Linked DNA regions of Homo sapiens: regions 2, 3, 4, 5 and 6 are each linked to region 1. Evidence: promoter capture Hi-C in 16 types of primary human blood cells and fetal thymus (Javierre and others, 2016). All regions are on one chromosome and are shown on one strand. Each heading gives the region's core, a stretch centred on a gene start or on the middle of the fragment in contact. The rest is flanking DNA. Distances are from core to core; before and after follow the strand shown.

Region 1 (3,513 bases), core at 638-3,137:
ACTTATTATTATTATTTTTTCCAGAAGTTTGCCAGTTAATTGCTTGAGAAGTATTCAACATCAGAATCAAGAAAATTGATTGCCTTGCAATGTGTGGAAGTGCATTTTGAAAAGAACAAGGAATGCCCTTGGACTTTAAATTTTTACTATCAGTTTGACATCTAACTTTTACTGTCCAGTGGTTTTCTTTAATCTTAAAGAAATCTAGTTATTCTAATATTGAGCAGTTTTAGAGAGTATACTTAATAAAGGAAAGTGGTATAATGAACAGGGATGGATATTAAAGGGATAAGTGAGGGAGTAACTATCAGAGCCAATATAAATAAATAAATAAATAAATAAATAAGTACCTGTACTCACAGGATAACCTGGAGATGATTTCTAAGCCTCTGACTTTTAGCCCCAGAGTTCTAGGTAAAGTTCTTTCTTGACCTCTCTTCTGGGAGGGAACTTTTCACAGTTTATTAATCAATCCCTTTCAGGGTCTTTGCAGAAAAGATTTTCTCTGCCCTGGTTTGTGTCATATTTGGGTCTAATTTGGAAAGTGGAGCAATTAAAGAGTCAAAACCTTTCATTAGGAGCCTGCCATTAAAAAAAGAAGAAAGAAAGAAAGAAAGAAAAAAGGAAAAAAAAAAAAAAAGCTTTGATCTGTAACCCTTGGACTGAACATTCTAGTCATTCATCTTCCAAAATTTCAAGTGCAAGATTTGGTTGTGGTTTGATTTTACGTCTTTGAGACACAGCTTGAATGTCTCAATTTGATTTTATGCATTCGACACATTTTTAGGGATCTGGTGATTTGGGAAGGGCTGTACCATATGGTCTTGGTGAGGTGATAGATTTTCACATTCTGGAAATTGGCAGCAAAGGGTAGGAACTGAATTAGATGTGGAAAGGGAAGATTAAGCGTTTGGGCCTAATTCACTCATCTCATGAAAAATCTTCTGAGACGTGTAATTCCCATAAAATCTATTTTTACAAATACGGCTTTTGTTTGATTGTTTTTGGTGTATATGTACACGTGTCCTCACACGTAGGGAGTAATTTTTTTAAATTCTCTCAAAAGTAGAGGACATGACATTTAGCTTTTAAAGCTATGACATTTAACACTTCTCAGTTAGTCCTTCAGGAGAGATCTCAGACTTAGGGGGGTCACAGAATATAAAACAGCCCGCTACACATTCCCTGAAAAGGAGATTGTATAGAAAGTTAGGAGCTGAGGGGCTGGTGCCACGTTCTAAAAGAAAACAGGACAGACAAATCGTTTTCATCTGAGAATTGTTTTTGGAGAAACACTAGAGTCAACGATAGAATAAATCAGAGCCAGGTGTGTATATATATAGGGAGGATAAAAACACCCTGGCGGCAATGAAATTTAAGAAAGAGCAATTTAAGAAGAAAGGGGTGCCCTGTGTGATTCCTCGCGGTGGGATAGAGGGAGCTGAAGTGTAGGATTTTCCCTGATCTTTCAGAGAATTCAGATTCAGGAGGCCTGACATTTAATCTGGTCTGTGCACGGATTTCTCCGGCTTGGTTGGGGTTCTGCGGAATGCAACGCTCCTCGGGCGCTTTCTGCCTTCACCTCTTCCGTGGTCTTTGATCCCCAGTCCCCGCGCAGGGCCGCAGCGGAGCCAGGTCGTGCGCCCATTTCTCGCACCTCCACGAGCCCGCGGCTGGCGCCACCGGGCGCGGGACGCGGGGCGCGGGGCGGGACCGAGGCGGGGCGCTCCGGCGCGCAGCGGGTTAAGCGGCGAGGGCGGTGGCGAGGGGCGGAGGGAGTGCCGCGGCTCCCGGCTCCCGGCTCCAGGCGCCCGCGTCCCGGACAGCAGCGGGTTAAGTGCCGCCCGCGCGGAGACGGCTGAGTCCGGAGCCGCGGCTCCGAGCTCGCATTCGGATCCGCTAGAGCAGGAAGATGGCGACGGACGGCGCGAGCTGCGAGCCCGACTTGTCCCGGGCCCCGGAGGACGCGGCGGGGGCCGCGGCGGAGGCGGCGGTAACCGAGTTCCCGGGGCGGGCGCGGGGCTAGTGTAGACGCGGGCCGGGGGCGGCGCCGGGGTCCCAGCCGGACCCGACTTCGCACCCCCGGGGCGTTCCGTAAGCCCGGGACTCTCCGGTGCCCCTTCATCGGGGCCCCCCTTCCTCGGGATGCCCACACGGCGGAGGCCGCGGGGGGGAGCGGAGCGGCCACCCTGGCTGGGGATCCCTCCTGTCCCTTCCGCGCCCCACGGGAAGCGGCCCCGGGTCGCCCGGTTCTCCCAGCTCCCTGTCTGCGTCCAGTGCGACCCCTATGCCCACTCCCTCCGCTGCGGTCGCTTCTGGCCGGGGGAGAAGGCTGGGACGTGTTTCCTGGCGAATTTGACCCCCCATTGTTCACCTCTCGCTGCGCGCGTGGTTGCCAGCGCGTGTCTCGGGGGTGCCTGGTACCGCTCAGCGGACCCGGGAGAGCAGCTTGGGGGAGGTGGGCCATCGCCCAGCAGGTGTGGGGATGCCCATTGTGTGCATCTGGTCCTGTGCCTTCGGGAGGCCCACTGGGAGAGGGCCGTGTCCAGATGTGGGCGCTGCTGCCGCTGAGGCCAGCGCTTTAGGTCCTAGCAGCCTGCTGCCCCATTACTTGGTGGTAGTGATTGGGGTGGGGTGGATGGATTGGTTCTTCCCGAGACGATGCTCAGGAGAGGTGGAGGTTCTGCACCTGGTTTCAAGACATTGTTCTCCTTCTCTGGAGTCTAGAGGCCGAATGCGCTACCATTCTTGACTGGTCCTTACTTTCACCCCCTTAATATTCCGGTGTAGAGACTCGCTGGTGGTTTCCAGCCTCTACTTTGGGGAAGGGCTGGACCCACATTTCCTGGGTGGAAAAGGTTCTCGGTGTTTGGGAAGCAGCTTCGCAGGAGCTGCAAGGAGCTGCAGAGAAAGGCAGATCTGGGAGCGCCTCCCACTCTTGGCCAGATCTGGCTGCTCCCGCCGAAGGATGGGGTGGGATGGAGCGAGCGGGGCGTGGACGCCCCCCTCTTCCTATCAAGACCTGAGCAGAATCAGTGCAGGAGAGGGCAGGGCCGGGCGTAAACAGCGGGGGCCGCTTTAACTTCCTCCCACCCTCTGGAGGTAGGGCTTTCTGGAGAGGGAGAGGAGAGATGTGGAGGAAGGTACTTGGGGTGAGAGGAGCTGAGCCTGGCAATGGAAGGAGAAACGGGGAGGAGGACTGCTAATTTCCACTTGTAAAACTGGCAAGTTTTGATTTGAACTTTTGGGAAAATTGAGTTTCCATTCTTTGCATAGAAAATGAGAACTTTAAGATTTCAAACGAAACCTGCCCACTTATGTGAATCAGCTCCCCTCTGTGGGGCACAGTAAGGAAACTAGCTATTGAGACAAGGCTCTCTGGCAAGTGGAAATGATTTGGTGCCTTCATCCCCAAAAGGTGGGAAGGGGAAGGACGAGGAAAAAGAAAGAGGGTGTGTGTGTGTGTGTGTGTGTGTGTGTGTGAAGGGGAAGGACGAAAAAGAAAGAGGGTGT
Region 2 (3,513 bases), core at 554-3,053, 410 kb after region 1:
CACACAATTACATTGGGGATTATTGTGGGCATGTATGTGTTTTCATCACATCCATTTTTTGACGTAACATTTAAAATATGCCACAATTTTGTAACCCTGGCATTTTTCAGTTTTTAATATACTGAGGGCCTGAAAAAATACAAAGAGCCCTGGTGTCTCTGAATGACTCTGCCAGTTGCAGGACATCATGCTAATCTCTGGGGACACCAAGACACAGTCCCTACTATCAAGGAGCTTATAGTTGGCATATAAAGAGAAACAAATATACAAATACGAATAATAGATAATAGAATATGATGAGGGCCACTCTAGAGATGCAAATAGCCATGAGACTTAAGGGCACCAAAGATCATCCAGTTAAGAATAAGATATGTCTTCAGGAGAAAATGTCATTGACAATGGATCTTGAAAGACAAGGGGCCACTGCACATATACACCATGGAATACTATGCAGCCATAAAAAAGGATGAGTTCATGTCCTTTGTAGGGACATGGATGAAGCTGGAAACCATCATTCTGAGCAAACTGTCGCAAGGACAGAAAACCAAACACCGCATGTTCTCATTCATAGGTGGGAATTGAACAATGAGAACACTTGGACACAGGATGGGGAACATCACACACCATGGCCTGTCGTGGGGTTGGGGGAGTGGGGAGGGATAGCATTAGGAGATATACCTAATGTAAATGACGAGTTAATGGGCACACCAACATGGCACATGTATACATATGTAACAAACCTGCACGTTGTGCACATGTACCCTACAACTTAAAGTATAATAATAATAATAATAAATAAATTAAATTAAACTAAATAAAAAGAAAGACAAAGGGCCTCTGACAGGCAGAGATGACTGAGAAAGATATGAGTAGAAAGGGACATACTTTTGAAATCGCACTGTTTGCATGGTTTGTGAAAAGCAGAGGAAGGAGTAAATGTGGAAAATCAGATTGAGACCTTGTTCAGAGTCTGAAATGGCAGAAAAGAAGTCCCACACCTACTATCATTGGCAAAAGGGAGTTAGTATGGGGTTTTGAGTAAGGAAATAACATCAACGTGTTGCATTTTAGAAAGAAAAAAGTAGAATAAATACACATGGTGGCCTAGTGGAAAAGGAAGACATCGTATGGGCAATCAGTAAAGAGGCTGTCACAGCAACCCTAGGCCTGAAGCTTCATCACTCTGCCTAATTGGAAGAATTTCCTTTTTGCTTAGTCCCGGGGATCCTTTCTTTGTTTTCTTCCCTACACCTATGTTCTAAGCTATAATAACTATAAGCTTGTATTCATTAGGTGACCTGAGGAAGTTCATTTTTGTCCAGTATTTGGAAATATTCCTTAGTATGACCAAGGGGAGTCCTAATACATAACCTTGCTTGACAGTTAAAAAAAGATTCTTAAAGATGAGGTAATCAATAAGCAAAGGAAAGAAGTAATTTCTAGTACTTGGAATAAGCAATATGGGGATTTATCTTCCCAGGAATTACTCAATCTCTCTCCACTACTGTACTTCCAGAACAATGCCATTATTCAAGCTGAACAGGCAAAAATCCAGGTTGCCACCTGACTTTTGATTTAACAAAGGTTACATGCAAGCTGTTCTGAACTGTTGAATTACATAGTTTATCACATCATCTAATGTTTTGAAAAAGATGTTTTATTATTAATTAAATTTAAAGTTTCAAGAGAAAATATCCTAATATACTTACTAAAACTATATTTAAACATTCCTGTAAGGTATATTATTGAAAAAAAAAAAAAAAAAAAAAAACTCCATCACATCCCATTTGAGTTTCCTTCAGTTATGTTTATAAGATACATTACTTGATTAATAAAACTGAAAACCATGCTTAACAACTCTGCATGTTGAAGGAAATGACCAAATGGCTATATTAAGATGTCTATGGAAAACATTCACATAAACTTACCCATAATTGAATTAGAAAACCATAAAAGGAAAAAGTCTAATTAATTGAATTACCCAAAATAAAAGGGGACATTTTTATCACTTCAAAATATAAAGAATATTCAGACTTTTCAAGTCTGAATTTATAATTGGTTTATAAACAATTAAAAATTCAAAGTACAAATTTCATTGGAGATTCATTAAACCAAATATATGTAAGAAATTAAAATTTATACTTAGATCAATTATTTTCAAAATAGCATAACTAAAGAGAAAACAAAATAGCTCACTTTGTAAATGTATCAGAGAAGTGTTTTAAATAGTTGAATAGAGGACGAGATACTTTTATAGTATTTTCTTCTCTCTTCCTTACCTGCCCTCTGCTGGTGAAAAGAGAAAAGTGAAAAGTAAAGAAGCTTCAAACAACATCCCGGAAAAGCACACTTTTATACAAAAAAAATTTAGTGTTATAACATTTTTCATTATACCAGATTAATTTGCCATCATATTATCCCACCACTCTTCTTGGAAGCAATATTCATACATTAAATGTTGCCTGTGAGTTAGGATTGGCGTAAAAAAAATTAGGAGGCTTTGGAAATATTTCACTATTTTAACAAAGTTTAGGTAAATGACCATGCTAAAATAAGAGTACAAACATCTAACAGACATCTAAAAATATTATGAAAGATATTTTATGTCATTTCTTTCTTTTTTTCTTTTTTGAAACTGAGTCTCACTCTTTGTTGCCCAGGCTGAAGTGCAGTGGCGCGATCTCGGCTCAGTGCGACCTCCGCCTCCTGCGTTCAAGCGATTCTCCTGTCTCAGCCTCCCGAGGAGCTGGGATTACGGGTGCCCACCACGATGGCTGGCTAATTTTTGTATTCTTAGTAGAGATGGGGTTTCACCACGTTGGCCAGGCTGGTCTCAAACTCCTGACCTCAGGTGGTCCACCCACCTTGGCCTCCCAAAGTGCTGGGATTACAGGCGTGAGGCACTGCGCCCAGCCATTTTATGTCATTTCTATCTTTACATTCTTATTGACCAAATAAGCATGGACTAGATGTGAGTTCCATTAGCACTAGTCATAATTGACTGAATGACCATGTCCAAAAGGGTCTAATGGATCACTGTGAGCCAAGATAGAAGTTAATAAGGATGGTCTACAGGGCTTCATCTTTAGTCCTCCCTGACCAACATTTTCACCAATGTTGAATATAAAATTAAGTAAATCCCAATCCATAAAGATTTCAACAGACTGGAAATTGAACAAATTGTACCAAAATAAAACAGGAATTACTACATAGGTTCAAAATTTGCACAAGCATGAGGTTTGTAGTGGTACCATTTGTGAAAGAGACTCTGATATTTCAGTTAGCAGCAAACTCAAGAGTAAAGTGGGATGCAAATATCAAAAAATTGATAATAATTTATATCTTAGGTGCTTGATATGTGCCAAACCTACGTTGAGCAGTTCATATATGTTCTAAAACCCCAGTCTAAAACAAATTTGGATCAGTGATTGACTCATTTACTGCCCAGCTGTCATGCTAAAAAAGGAATGAGCTAGAATTCTTTTACTGGGGGAGAAGGATTAGGAAATGACT
Region 3 (3,513 bases), core at 494-2,993, 340 kb before region 1:
TTGACCTGCTCCAAACACAGATTCTACAATGTGCCCCACTCCCAATCCCCTGCCAGGTGGAAAATCAGAAACAGAACTCAAATTCAAGATCTCAGGACAAAAAAATTGACACCTCATCCAGTTTTTTTGGTGACCAAAAACAAAGTCTGTCCAAACAGGATGCCAGCCTGGTACATTCACTGGTCTGTGAGACCAGCTTAAATACCAGGCTTATAAAACACTGGATATGTTTTATCTTGTGATTCTCCTTCTCATGACAAACAACACTTTAGATAGCACAATGCAAAATGAAAGCCCAAAAATAGAGCAAGAAGGGACAAAAGAGAATGGCCTGATTTCACCAAAGATGCCAAACAAATGAGACTCAGTAGCAAAATCCAGATACCAAATTAAGAAACCAAGAAAATCGAAGAAAAAATAGTAGAGGAACTGAACACACACACATAAAGCATAATGCAGACTTGTGCTGACTTAGTCACATCAGCAAAGACCCAACAAGCCATGAAAAGCAAGGTGCAAGGAGTCTCCACGGGAACCACTGGTTGAAAGATGGGGTCTGCAGTAATAGGCGGTATAGACCAAATCTTGCTGTTGGTCTAGGGAACCTGTTCACATAAAGATAACCCAAATGAGAATAACCAGAACCTATTTTTTCAGAGTTTGCATAGCAAGGGAGTCAGCCATCATTACTTGCATCTGACAGAGACTCAAAGGCAAAAAGGAAAATGAAAAAACTTTAATGGTGAAAAAAAGAAAAGGCTTCTGGTTTGCTCTGATTGGGGGTTGTTGGCTGACTAGAAATGGGGCAACTTATGTGATTGGTTTGAGGATCTATTTGGTTTTCTCTGGTTGGTTCTGGTTGGAGTGAGGCAAAATACTGGCAGTCACTGACCATTCTGGGCTGATGGCTGCAGAGGCTGTGGGTCAGAGTTCTACTTTCATACATGGTCTGGCCATTGTCTATTTGTACATTCACTCTCTGACACATATTCTATTATTATATCTTTGCCTCCTGATTTTTAAGTTTTAAATCTTCAGAAAATGTGTCTATTTAATGAGTTATTATTAAAGTTTTTAAATTATTTTTTCTGTCATGTACAAACATTATAAGAGAAAAATTCTCCATATTGTATGCCTCCTTAATATATTTACTATTTCCATTGATAATCTTAGTAACAGAATGAAAATGATATAGTAGATTCAAATTCCTACTTAGCCACTTAGAAGCATAATAATTTTCAAGCTTCTTAACTGCTAGGGTTTGAATGCATCTCCTCCAAAGTTTATGTTGAAACTCACTTCCCAACCCAGCAGTATTAAGAGGGGCCTTTTGGAGGTGATTAGGCTATGAAGGCTCTGCCCTCATGGATGAGATTACTGCCTTATAGAAGGTCTGGAGATAACTATCTTGGCCCTTTTAACTCTTTCTTTCTGTCTGTCATGTGAGGATACAGTATTTGTCCCCTCTAGAGGACACAGTGTTTAAGACATCATCTTGAAAGCAGACACTGGGCTCTCAGCAGACACCAAAACTGCTGGCACCTTGATCTTGGAATTCCCAGCCTCTAGAACTGTAAGAAATAAATTTCTATTGTTTATAAATTATCCAGTCTCAAGGAATTTTGTCATAGCAGCACAAACAGACTAAGACATTAACCATAGCTCCATTTCGTTCGATGTAATATAAAGATGATGTACTGGTCACTTCCCAGGACCGACCTCATAAAGGAGAACCTTTTCTCCTTTACCCTATGTGTATACTACTTCAGAATCCTTGGAACCATGTATCTTTGATATAAATTGCACTCATTGGCTACACATTTGATTCCTTCAAATCTTTTAAGTGTATCTCTATGATTGAATTCATGACACTCATTTGACATTAGGGTTAAAATTTAAAGGTAAGGTTTTATGGAATGAGACAGAGCCAGAAGAGGACAGGAGGAGTGATTCTGCTGAATACCTTTTTTTCTTTACATCTAGACTGCGTACTTTTCTTCTTTCTTATAAGTTTCCCTTGGAGATGTGCTGCCACACTCTCTGAAAACACAGCTGGGACATGGGTTGCTGAATGGGCTCTCAATCATTAATCATCCCCTTTACCTTCAAGAAACATATGCGGAAGAGCCCAGAGGGAAGTGGGAAGAGAATATGCTCCGGAACTGAGGTAGCTGCTATTAAAGTGGGATAAGGAGACTCTTAAAAAAACAATTGTTAAGTGCAAGATGCCAGGGGAAGCTTACTGGGACGAGACTTTCAGGGTCCTGGCGCCCTGGTCGGCACGGGCCAGATCCTGTGCAAGCCTGCTTGTCCACAGGCACCGCCTTCCTTTGAACGCCTCAGCATCTGCTCTACCTCCAGACCTAGCAAAGACCACCACCGCTAGAGCCGGCGTGCTTGGTCTGCGCATGCGCGCTGGGTCTGCGCCCACCAAAAGGACGCGCGCATGGGCAAACCTGCCATTTACGGAGTTGGGCGTGGCGTCCTTGCCCGCCTCAGAAGTCATGATTTGTAAGCAGCAGGGCTTTGCTGCGGCGGGGCCACGGCGAGACCTGCTTCTTTGACCCAGCGCTAGTGTAAGGGTTCCTGCGAAAAGCAGAGAAGAGAGTTGTGCGTCTGGACTTGTCCGCGGTATCCTGAACCCTCTCCCCAGAGAGATGAAATGGTTTGTTCTCCCGTAGAATAAAGGGACAGTGGCCCCCGGCTCCTCTGGGGCTAGAGGAGAGGCCTCTCAGGGCGCTGGCTAGAGACGAGGGATGGGAACCGTGCCCCATGACAGAGCTCGGGAAAATCCACCGGGGTGCCGCGTGGGAAACGTGGCGAAAGTGCAGCACAGTGTTTTGATGAGGATCTATGGGCTCAACCTAGGAGTCAAAAAGGACAGGTAACAGGACGGCGCAGACAGGCCCCGTGGAGCTGAGCCCAGGACGGATTCTAGGAGAGGCGCACTCCGACCTCGACTCCATCGCTGCGGAGCTGGTCAAGTCCTCAAGTTCTGAGAGGCCTGTTCTGTCCTTCTAAGGCTCCTTCAGTCAGGGACACCGAAGCACCTAAAACAGTAACTGCACACAGAGTCCAGGCCAAGTGTGCCTGTCAGTCTTTCATGAATCAAATCTTTTAAAACAGCACAAGGGATTGGGGGCGGGTGGGGAACAGGGGGTTCGGGGGACAACACACCTTTATCTGGATCCTTGTCTTTTCACAACTCACCATTATAGGCCACTTGATTGACAACTTTAAAGTGGTTTCATTAAATATAAATACCAATAGAAATAAAGTATATACACCATCATTTCCATTTTAGTAGACACATTTCTGATGATCAAATATTAGCATATTGTAGAAAAGTATGTAATAAGAGAAAAAACTCCCATAACATATTCACTTATGAATTAAGAATATTTTTGATGAAGTCAACATACTTTTTTGTTTTTTTGTTTGTTTTGAGACTGAGCCTCACTCTGTCGCCAGGCTGGGGTGCAGTGGTGCGATCTCGTCTCACTGCAACCTCCA
Region 4 (3,513 bases), core at 415-2,914, 320 kb before region 1:
CATAAATTATATCCCAGAATACTGAAAGAATCTGATGAAATAACACGACCTTCGACAGTAAATCTGAGTCAAGATGATTTGGTTGAGGTAGATACAGACAGATAGAAGCTTCACAAGCACAAGAATACTGTTCCCTGGCCTATCCACAGCTTTGAGCATACTGCCTGGCATGTATTAATGGCTTGATAAGTGTCCCTGACAAAATTCCAAAATCTATTTTTTTGAAGTTTGTGGACAGGTAGAAAAGAAAGCAATGGCCACTAGGAGGCAGCATCGATTTATGAAGACTAAGCACGTCTCATGGTTTCCCACTATACAGAGGAATGAAGATCACATCAAAGCATCTGACCAAATCTCACATCAATAATCCCTATAAACAGGATGGAGCATAAGTACTAGATATCTCACAATTAAATGAATTTGTCGCTAGTTTAATGGGAGCACTATGCTATTTAATGGGTATCAATCTAAATGGAGATAGCTTTACCTTATCAACATTTTTTTCAGTATTACATGTAGACAGAAAGGAATTTTTATCAAATTTGCCCATGACTTAAAACTGAGATTCACAGCCCAAGTTTTTTTAAACCCAAAATAAGTAAAATTTAATTTAATAAAATTAAATCTATATGAGGTAATGACTATACAAGTACAGAATGGAGAGGTTCCTCTTTACATGTGAAAGACCTTTGAGTTTACACTTTCAAACTCCTTGAGTCAAGAATATTCGCTGACATAGAAACAAATTTTATTGTACATTTCTTAATACTGTAAACTTACACGTACTTCCCACATAACCTCAATTCCTCATCTATTCTCTTGTAGAGATATGGTAGTCAGTGGGACAGACGCTTAAAAAGCTGACAAGACCTATATTTTTAACTTTTATACATTGGCCTTTGACTACCTGGAATAGTATTAAATAGCTGTTTACGGTTATGTCCTCAAAATCATACCAAATGTTTAAAATGCAGTCTAATGCTACTTTTTACAACCCAAGAAGATAGCTGTTATTATCCTTATCTTGAATAAGATCCTGTGTTTGAAATCAATTCTGTGGGGTTAGAGACTCATCCCAGCAGGTAAGTGCTAGGTCTTTTAATAATTCCACCACTTTCCTTCGCTGTTTAGTGACTATTCCTTTTTGCTCCATTACACAGCTGCTGAACCACAACGAGTAGGGCCCAAGAAAATTTTTAAAGCACCTTAGGTAATTGTAATGAAAACGGCCCACAATGCAGGTTTGGGAACTGCGTTAGATCATCTGAATATTTCTCATCAGGCTTCTGATAGATGCTTGATAGCAGATTTTAAGACTATACTTTCTGATAACAGGCAGTATTGTATAAAAAGCTGAAAGACCTAGTTGAATTTGAGCACTGTTACTTACTAGTGCTACCTCTTACAAGTCACTTGACCCTGCTGAGCCTCAATTTTCCCATATATAAAATGATCATTGTAAGCACTCAGCACCAGGCCTGGCACATGATATGCACTCAATAAATACTACCTACTAATTTTGAAGATGAAGGCCCAGAATATACTAACTATATTGTCAGTTAAGAGTTGCCTTACAACCCTGGCTACTAAATTGTCTGGTTCACATGCCATTACAAAGGGCCTTTACTTTCTCATTCCCATGATGAATCTCAGGTTACACGGCTGAGGAAAATGTTGACATCGTTATTCTGTATTTGCATTAAATACCATTTAAAAGTTGTTTTTATCATACTTATATCTCACATTATTACCTTAAAAATTCCGAAGGATGTTATAAAGTTGTTAAACAGGATGTTTAAGCAAATATTAGTAAAACTTTCTCTCTTGCTCTTCTGGGATCAAGATTTGTAATATTTAGCCAAAACTGTCAGCATGTGAGGCCAAGTTACCAAAGTGCTTTGACATAAAAGCAATGTTATTTTAAACTATTAGTTTAGATAGTATCTTGTCAGTTAAAAAAAAAAAAGTCCCTTTTGCAGTTAATTGCCCTTTCCAAATAACTTTAATGAAAATATCTTGCCAAGAAACATCTCTTTGATTCATTAAGCTGGGTTTAGATTGTGCCTGAGTCACAAAGCACAGAGGTAATTACAGGTTGAAATTGATTTGCGCCTCTTTATAAATAAGAACTGATTATAGAATAAATGTCTCATTAAATATAAAATATTGACACTGTATATTAATTATGTTACTACTCATGGTTGTGGCTCCCTTACAATTCTCATGCAAAAATAAATCCAATTTTAATCGGTTGTGAGAAAACAGTCCACCATGTGCTTGTATCCAGGAATAAAGAATTACATAGATTATCTGGCATATTGTCATCACATCCTCTGTAACTATTCATAAAAACAATAATTCACATTTTGGGAATGCTTTTTCCAACATCAATCAGGAAAATACAGCTTTATAAGGTGTTTCAGATTGCAAGAATACATCACATTAGAAACCCATTATCATGAGGGACAGGACTGGTTTTTATTTGTTTATGTGTAATGTGTTGATATGCCAAGTATTTTGAGAAAAGATCTGACTCTGGACTTCATTTGTACTGTTAGAATGCATTTTTCTTAGCAACTGAACAATGTGTATTCTTATTTAATTTTTGGAATTACTTTACCAATTCAAAATGCCATATACTACAATATTTCATTCACAGTCCCTAAATTTGCCTGTTTGCCTTACCCACTTTCCATCATTTTATTAATAAATTGATTATAAAACATTATACTACAAGTCAAGTACTTATGAATAGCCAATACTAGCTAACTTCTCTAATTCTCCCAGAGACAGCCCTTAACATCAACCAAATAATTCTAGAGAATAGTGCTTCTCCCCTTATAAGGCTGATTTGAGTGAAGATATTTTCCTCCCCCAAAAAGCTATTATGTTTAATAAGTATGAAGTTTAAAATATTTTAAAATATGAATGAAACCCACCTCTAAACTCTCTATAAGGATCTATTCCAGAATTTATACAAATTGTTCATTTTTTCTTATTGAACTTGTATTAAGCCAAGGGTCAGCAACTATGCCTTCAAGCCCAATCCAACCCCCACCTCCATTTTTATAAATGAAGTTTTACTGGAAGACAGCCACTATTCATTTATGTATTATCTATGGTTATTTGTAGGCCACAATAGCAGAGGTGAGTAGCTGTGACAGACCACATGGCCTTCAAAGCCTAAAAGACTATCTGGATCTTCATAGAAAAAGCTTGCCAACTACTATTTTTAAGCACTTTCATAAAAACAAAACAAATAAACTATTTAAATTTGTTTCAATTACAAGGATGTAAATATTTTTCTATGTTCTTCTCATCACAAAGACACACACTTGGGCCTATACATGAGTTGATCAGAAATTTTATGGACTAGCCTGAATATCTAAACACTACTTACATTGTTTCTTTCAATTATTTAAAAAACTGAGTTGACGTCTTCTGAAATCAGGTTTATGGATAATGAATCATGGAAAATTGCTGACAATAATAGCTAGCACTACTTCAATACAA
Region 5 (3,513 bases), core at 490-2,989, 300 kb before region 1:
ACTCTGTGTCTGATGAGGGCCTGTTCCTTATAGATGACACTTTCTTGCTGCATCCTCACATGGCAGAAGGGGGCAAGGCTGCTCCGTTCAACCTCTTCAGTAAGGGCACTAATCCTGTTCATGAGGGCAGAGTCCTTATGACTTACTTCCCAAAAGACCCCATCTCTTAATGCTATCATATTGGATATTAGGTTCCAACATATGAATTTTGGAGGACACCAGTATCCAGACCACAGCAGAAGCCAAAAAATGACAAAACATTCTGGCTATAATATGCTGTGTATAATACATTCCTGAAAATCTTCACATTTTAAGAAAATGGCTCACTTAAAATAAGAGCCTAAGGAAAAAATAAGTCTGGGAAAGCCCTCTCAAACTCTGAACAACTGAGCGGTGGTTCCCAAACTTTGCTACTTACTGATATGATCTTTAAAAACTGATAGCTGGCTCCCACACTCAAGACATTCTGAGTTAAATAGAATGAGGTTCAGCTGGGCCTCAGTATTCTAAAACATCCGTAGTTAACTAATAAACAACAAAGTCTGGCAACCACTGAACTGTAGTATTAACAGACAATAACAACCGAAATGAAAATAGTAGTTCATTTAGAAGGACGTGTAAAACTCCTAACAAATAAAGCAATGTTATATTAACTTAAAGAGTTTTACCTTTTTAAAAAAGTTGAAGGTTGCTTAAAGAATGACAGTTTACAGAAGGGTAGACACTGATGAGTGATGGAAACAAGGGCGGGAGATCATCAGAAGTAGCAGATGGAGAAGCAGTTGCAAACTTTGCAGGAAATGTGGAGTTGCCAGAGATGGATGGCTCTGACTCGTTGTCTGATGTCGCTTTTGCCCAAAGATGTGAGGGAGCTGCAAAATAAGCACTATCAAAATGGAGCATATGGCTGAACCAAGCCCAGGGAAGAATGGGGTCCCACACCGTGAAAGGTCATCATTTGAGTGCTATACTCCCCCAGGCCTGGTTCAATCACAAAACTAAGTGCAATAATTGTACTTCAGCTATTGTGTCTTTGTACTACAAAGCATTAAAGTGCTATGAAAAATTATGTATGAACCAACCCACTTTCCCTATTATTCTAACATTACTCTCCTGTTTAACAATCTCATGTGACCTCATGTGTACTATAAAAAACAGTACTCGGCTGGGTGTAGTGGCTCATGCCTTTAACCCCAGCACTTTGGAAGGCCAAGGCAGGCAGATTACTTGAGCTCAGGAGTTCCAGACCAGCCTGGGCAATGTGGTGAAATCCTGTCACTACAAAAAATTAGCCAGGCGTGATGATGCGCACCTGTAGTCCCAGCTACTCAGGAGGCTGAAGTGGGAGGATTCCTTGAGACCAGGAGGCAAAGATTGCAGTAAGCCAAGATCTTCTCACTGCACTCCAGCCTGGGTGATAGAGCTAGACCCTGTCTCAAAAATAAAAAATAAAAAAGACAATACTGTAACATAACAGACTATGTTAGTATTCCACTGAGAATCTGGAGTTTAAATAATGTCATCCTGCCCCTGTTTTACTTATCTCCTTCTGTGGTTCATACTGTCCTTTAGCACCAAGTAATTCTTTAGGTAGGCAGTTCTTCCACCTCTGACTTTGCCCTAGAAGGGTACTTGAATTCGTATAACTTGGGCAGCTTTATTTAAATAGCACATACAGCATATGACTAATCCAAATGGAGCACCCATACCTGATCATTTTTCAATATCTTTTTTTAAAAAATAAATTACCATGTATGTGTTATCACTATAGTGAACCAGATTAGGGAACTTTATTTTAAGCTGAGTACATTTGCTTTCTTTTTTATTGTTTTGCTTGGCTTTTAAAAATTGTCTTTAGCAGCTTGGATTGCAATACAGGTAAAATTATACTGTCATTTCCATTGAATTTTTTGCATGCCAAAATTGGAAAATAATATTGATATCAGAAATTACTTAGGTCACTAGGATCTTCAGTCTGAATTCATTCCTTAATGTTATAATCCACACAGAAGGAACAGATTGATTTGGACTTGTTGCAGACATTGTATGGCAAGGTAGAGCAATGCTAATTTATTGATTTTTTTTTTTTGGAGAAAAATACTGAGGTTAGGCAATGAGAGATGAATAATGTAAGAAGGTATATAGAAATGTAAATGGAATAGTGAGAGTGAAGTATAAGAATTACATTGACAAAAGCTAAACATAAATAACCTTGAGTGACCAATAGAAAGCAAATGCCTGAAATTACATTAAAACACATGGGGAGCAAATAAGGGTTGAAAATTACTTATTGGGTACAATGCTCACTACTCAGGTGATGGGTGCACTAAAAGCCCAGATTTCATATATGCATGTAAGAAAGCTGCACTTGTACCCCCTAAATATTAAAAAAAAATTTTAAATTAAAAACATATGGGGCAGAAAAAAATCAAGGCTTTCCCTTATTTTTGATAAATTCTCATTATATAAGTTTTGTTTCATTTTTGTAACAAATCAGAATGACTCTCCCACTTCCACCCTTTTTCTTTCAGACTATGGATCACAGATATTTAGAGCTAAAAGGGAACCTAAGAATTTTCAAATTTACATTCTGTGTCATGTGGATTAGGAAACTGAATCCCAAATAAGTTCATTGACTCTTTTAGGGTTACATAGTAGAACCTACAATCAAGGCCTCCTGGATTCTAGTTCAGTGCTTCTTACAATAGTTAATAATAAAAGTAACTGTTCTACTTGAAGGACAAAATTTTGAGTTTATATGTACATATGATCAGCGCATATCCATGGATACGTCATTGCTATTGTATGTAGACTTTTTCGGAAATCAGAAGGAATATGTATACCTTTGAGTCCAAATACTCAAAGGCAGGTTGACATTTTTCAGATGTCACTACCAATGGGAAGAATAGGAAAGGCAACTAAGATATTGTGGAAGGTAGAATAATCTCTCCTACCCCCCCAACCCCCAAAGATGTCCACATCCTAATCCCTGGGAACTGTGATTGTTACTTTACATGTCAAACAGCACTTTTCAAATGTGATTGAAGGTAAGGACCTCGAGATGGTGAGGTTATTCTGGATTACTCAGCTGGCCCCCTCTAATCATGAGTCCTTAAATGCGGAAGAGGGAATCAGAAGAGTGGGTCTGAGAGATGTGACATGAAAAGACTTGTCCTGCTGTTGATGGGCTTTGAAGTTGGAGGAAGAGGGCCATGAGCCAAGAAATGTGGTTATCTTTAGAAGCTGAGAACAGCTCTTAGTTTATAGCCAGCAAGAAAACAGGGACCTTGGTCCTACAACAGCAAGAAACTGAATTCTGCCAAAATCTAAGTGAGCAGGAAATGGATTCTTCCCTACAGCCTCCTTCTGGAGGCATACATTCTACTAACACCTTGATTTAAGTCCAGTCAGACCCATATCAGACTTACAGAACTGTAAGTTAATAAAGTTTTGTTGTTTTAAGCCACTAAGTTTGTGGCGATTTGTTATGGAAGGAATACAAAGTGATACAGA
Region 6 (3,513 bases), core at 375-2,874, 280 kb before region 1:
TGGTTAGAACAACAAGATTTTCTTAAGGTATTTATTTATGCTTAATAAAATTACAAGATTTTAATTTTTTAACCCAAAAGTTCAACTTTTATCATGTCTCACTGTTTTCAGCTCTCTCTCTCCTTCAAGAAGGACTGAGATAATACCATTCTCCTTCAACTTTTTTGTCAGCTCCTGTAATTTTTTCACTCAGCTTCTAACTACTCTTGTGGCCTAAAGCTAAAAATGTTTTACCTTAAAGGCCTAAAGGACATATTTTCTTCCAGTATAACATTCTGTGCTCTTGGCTTCATACTCTTCCTATATCTAATTCAAGTACCATTTTCATTAGTTTTGACTTGCAGGTTATCTAAGTGGACTCCTTATAGGGAAAAGTAGTCCCACTGCAGAAGATTGGTTTTTATTGTTTTGTTTTGTTTTTTGCCTTTTGGTAAATGGCCTAATGGATTTTACATTTTATCAAAATAATTCCTAGGTCATTGTTACTAAATTTTGATTTGCTTAGGAAAACTGAGATTTAAACATTTTAAAAATTAAGGTTATCTCATCCATGTAACTTTCTGTATTGCTTTAAAAGTCCTTGTGCTGTCAAGTTACAGGGCTTTGATGCATGGGTCTAAAAAGGACACTAAGTCCTGCTAAATCTCAACACTGACAACAATTAAAGCCTCATTTTCAGACCTGGGAGAAAATGACAATCAAAATACACCATGTTCATGAGACACAGAGCCAGAAATTAAAACTATTCAATACCTCTGGACCCAGGGACTATTGCAGAACAGGTGGACATTTGAGGTTGTAAGGGCCAATTTTGAGAGACAAAATTTGTTCAGAGTTTCTCTGTAAATTAAACATTAATATCAAAAGCACACTAATGCAAACCAGCATCTAGGCCCCTGTGTCAGATTAACAAGGTTTTCTTGAAGCACTAACCAACTATTTAATAAAAAATTATAGGAGGTTATAAAAAGGTATATGAAAATTATATCTTTTAGTCAAGATATTTAAAATTTAATACATTTGTTTGTAAGATTTGAGAGACAGATTTAGTTGGCCTCATGCTGTCTTTTCAAGGGCTTGTTGTTTGGGAAATTAAGGCCTCCTCTCTCAATAAAGATTTTTGCCTTTTCTTGGAAATCTTTGAGTTATAATTTTGGCTAAATGAATGACTTATTTTACAATAACCTGTGATTCTACTATGTGATATGAAGTGTTTTAAGCTTTTTATATTTGACAAACTTTCTAATATCAAATTTTAAATTCAGTTCTGTTGACTTCATTAATTTTTGATATTAGGTCTTCTGAAGCCCAAAAGAGACATGTTCAGCTTATTTGGTATAATAAACATCATACAGAAAGCATTGTCAAATTCAAAATGGTGTTTAACCTTATTTGGATTATGTTTATATAAATGGGTTATTAGTATGTGTTCCAAAATTGTATGAGATTCCTGTGATTCTGTTATGTCTTAATATATGTTATCAGTAGCGATTATGATTATTATGTAAAATTGTTGTATGCCACAAAAGTAACCCAATTTCCTTGTCAATTCTGTCTTTAACCATGACTGTGCTAAGACCTTTGTCATCCACAATTGTTGTTTTACTTTGATCCTTCTATGGGGTGATTTATAATCAGCAATAATACTCTGAGAAGTACTCTTAAATATAAGTTTCTGGTAACTTTAGAAATTGTGCCATTGGAATAGAGAGAAAACTTCCAGGACTCTCATGGAGAGCTGATGTATTAATGAGGATTGTTGATCCAATCTAGAGCAGGCTGACCTATAGAGTTGATAAAAGCCCTTTGGAAAAACTGACCTCATACATTGTCCTTTACAAGGTCCTGACTTGTCTTAAGTAAAGAATGTCTCTTTATGATAGGCCCAGGAACCCCAAGTTTTCTTGGGACCTCAAAAAGAGAGGAATTCACCCAATTCAAACAGGTATCTGCAGGCACAGATAAATTGTTGGCTGGGCGTGAGGCTTTTAAAAAGGTCTAATCTTAGATTCCTTATGGAAAAGCTTCCAGCAAAGCCAATTTCAAAAAAGAGGGAGCCAGTATAGTAAATGATTATTCTTGCTGCACCTTATGCAAATAATCAAGCCAAGTATAATACGACTAAAACTTATTTTACAGATAAGTTTGTCCTATTATGATTTTGTGTTTAACAAAATTAGGGAATTAGAGAGAAAAAAATCATGTTTCAGAATAAACTATAGTACACTTGTTATTAGATTTTAGCCTTGTCTAGTGTTACTTAATTTTTATTATTTTTCTACAATTTGGACTGAATTCTAAAATCTTTCCTGATCAAAAGTCTCCAAAATCATGTTTTCAATTTTTTTCTTCCTTCTTTTCCTCCCCCCGCCCCTTTTTTTCTGATTAGAAATATGGAAGCTAGGCAAGTTAAATTTTGGAAGAAAATAACAGCAACCTATTTATAAACCATTTTCATACCTGCAATCTTATGTATAGACTTCAGAGTAATATGTTATTTATTACTTTTCCAGGATTGTTTTCCCTTTGTTGTTTTTTTGTTATTTTCTCCTTTTTTTCCTTTGTTTTGTTTCTCTCTTCCTCCCCCTATTTTTTCTTGTGGTAGTGAGACTACAACATGGTAAAAATGAGCTTTCATAACATGAGACCTATTTATCTAGGAATAAATTTCCCTAGCCACAAGAGATCAGACAGAACTTGAGACAAGAGACTAATTTTATTCTAAAATGCTTTCTCCAAAAGACTTTAAAAAAAAAAAAGAAAAAAAGGAGGGGGAGAAACGTGAAAGGAAAATAAATACTCGGGACTCCAACTCACTATGCCAAAAGAAAAAAATTAAGCTGAACACTGAGTCATGTAAGAAACTGCCCTTCCTTTTGTTTCTACATATATAGCTACAGACAAAAAGTTAAATATCTCCGTACATAGCAAAAAGAGAGGTCTGAAGCAGAGTGAGTTCATCCATGGATTGGGTTTTTTGTAAGATCAGCTCAAGTGAAGCAAAGAAAGGACTGGGAGTTGAAAGTATTTCAAAGGGGGAACTATATTGATTATGGGATCTGGGTTGAACAAGATGGGAAGTAATGGCAGGAGGGGACTGATGGATAAGAAAGTGGTGAGATGAAAGAGTTGAATGTCCCCACATCATTGAGAAACTATGTGGTTGTATGGAGTACTTGCATCAATGACCTGAATGCATAGGAAGTTGTAGAAGGAAAGTTAGATGTTATTATTTGAATTTTTTGAAAGGGTTGCTGCTTTTTAAGAGATGAAAAGATCCAAGGTGTGACACAGAATGGATGACTGGAGTGGAAAAAATGAAAATGTCATTGGAATATGGAAGTAAAGAAACTGAGAAGCTGAGAGTTTTTGCATCATCCAGTCAGGTATGGAAATCACCAAGGATAAAGGAAGGAACTGGGTTAGAATGGAAGACCTTTTGCCAGGAATGGAAGACTTCAGTAAATGAAGAGATTTGACTAGGATGTTGGCAGAAGATAGTGAGAAGGTCTA

Evidence for each region. The method cuts DNA at HindIII sites, captures the fragments that hold promoters and counts their contacts. A CHiCAGO score of 5 or more calls a contact.
Region 2: a contact is called between a fragment that was not itself captured here and the fragment with the promoter of CTTNBP2 in region 1, in 3 of 17 cell types (megakaryocytes, erythroblasts and M2 macrophages). The highest score is 11.5, in megakaryocytes.
Region 3: a fragment that was not itself captured here is called in contact with the fragment with the promoter of CTTNBP2 in region 1 in 1 of 17 cell types (megakaryocytes); the score reaches 5.4 in megakaryocytes.
Region 4: a fragment that was not itself captured here is called in contact with the fragment with the promoter of CTTNBP2 in region 1 in 1 of 17 cell types (megakaryocytes); the score reaches 7.1 in megakaryocytes.
Region 5: a contact is called between a fragment that was not itself captured here and the fragment with the promoter of CTTNBP2 in region 1, in 2 of 17 cell types (megakaryocytes and erythroblasts). The highest score is 7.9, in megakaryocytes.
Region 6: a fragment that was not itself captured here is called in contact with the fragment with the promoter of CTTNBP2 in region 1 in 1 of 17 cell types (megakaryocytes); the score reaches 11.0 in megakaryocytes.

Annotation. Positions count from the first base shown.
Region 1 is chr7:117,871,815-117,875,327 of GRCh38, reverse strand. It overlaps CTTNBP2 (cortactin binding protein 2), which reads left to right and starts at 1,887. Exons shown (of 23, transcript NM_033427.3): 1 at 1,887-1,993. The coding sequence starts at 1,913. The HindIII fragment of the contact is 3,697 bases long and covers 644-3,513 here.
Region 2 is chr7:117,457,957-117,461,469 of GRCh38, reverse strand. All of the region lies in intron 1 of LOC105375468 (a long non-coding RNA gene), which reads right to left. Among named protein-coding and RNA genes, the nearest start is that of CFTR, 20 kb to the left of the region's middle. RefSeq lists a cis regulatory region at 2,280-2,293. The HindIII fragment of the contact is 1,043 bases long and covers 1,282-2,324 here.
Region 3 is chr7:118,213,535-118,217,047 of GRCh38, reverse strand. No RefSeq gene overlaps it. Among named protein-coding and RNA genes, the nearest start is that of ANKRD7, 9.4 kb to the left of the region's middle. The HindIII fragment of the contact is 995 bases long and covers 1,246-2,240 here.
Region 4 is chr7:118,192,817-118,196,329 of GRCh38, reverse strand. It overlaps LSM8 (LSM8 homolog, U6 small nuclear RNA associated), which reads right to left. Exons shown (of 4, transcript NM_016200.5): 4 at 1-3,513. Among named protein-coding and RNA genes, the nearest start is that of LSM8, 10 kb to the right of the region's middle. RefSeq lists an enhancer at 243-302. The HindIII fragment of the contact is 3,107 bases long and covers 111-3,217 here.
Region 5 is chr7:118,175,614-118,179,126 of GRCh38, reverse strand. The region is part of intron 1 of LOC105375470 (a long non-coding RNA gene); the gene reads left to right. Among named protein-coding and RNA genes, the nearest start is that of LSM8, 6.8 kb to the left of the region's middle. The HindIII fragment of the contact is 7,095 bases long and covers 1-3,513 here.
Region 6 is chr7:118,155,305-118,158,817 of GRCh38, reverse strand. LOC105375470 (a long non-coding RNA gene) reads left to right here. Exons shown (of 4, transcript XR_927904.3): 3 at 3,250-3,386. Among named protein-coding and RNA genes, the nearest start is that of LSM8, 27 kb to the left of the region's middle. The HindIII fragment of the contact is 804 bases long and covers 1,223-2,026 here.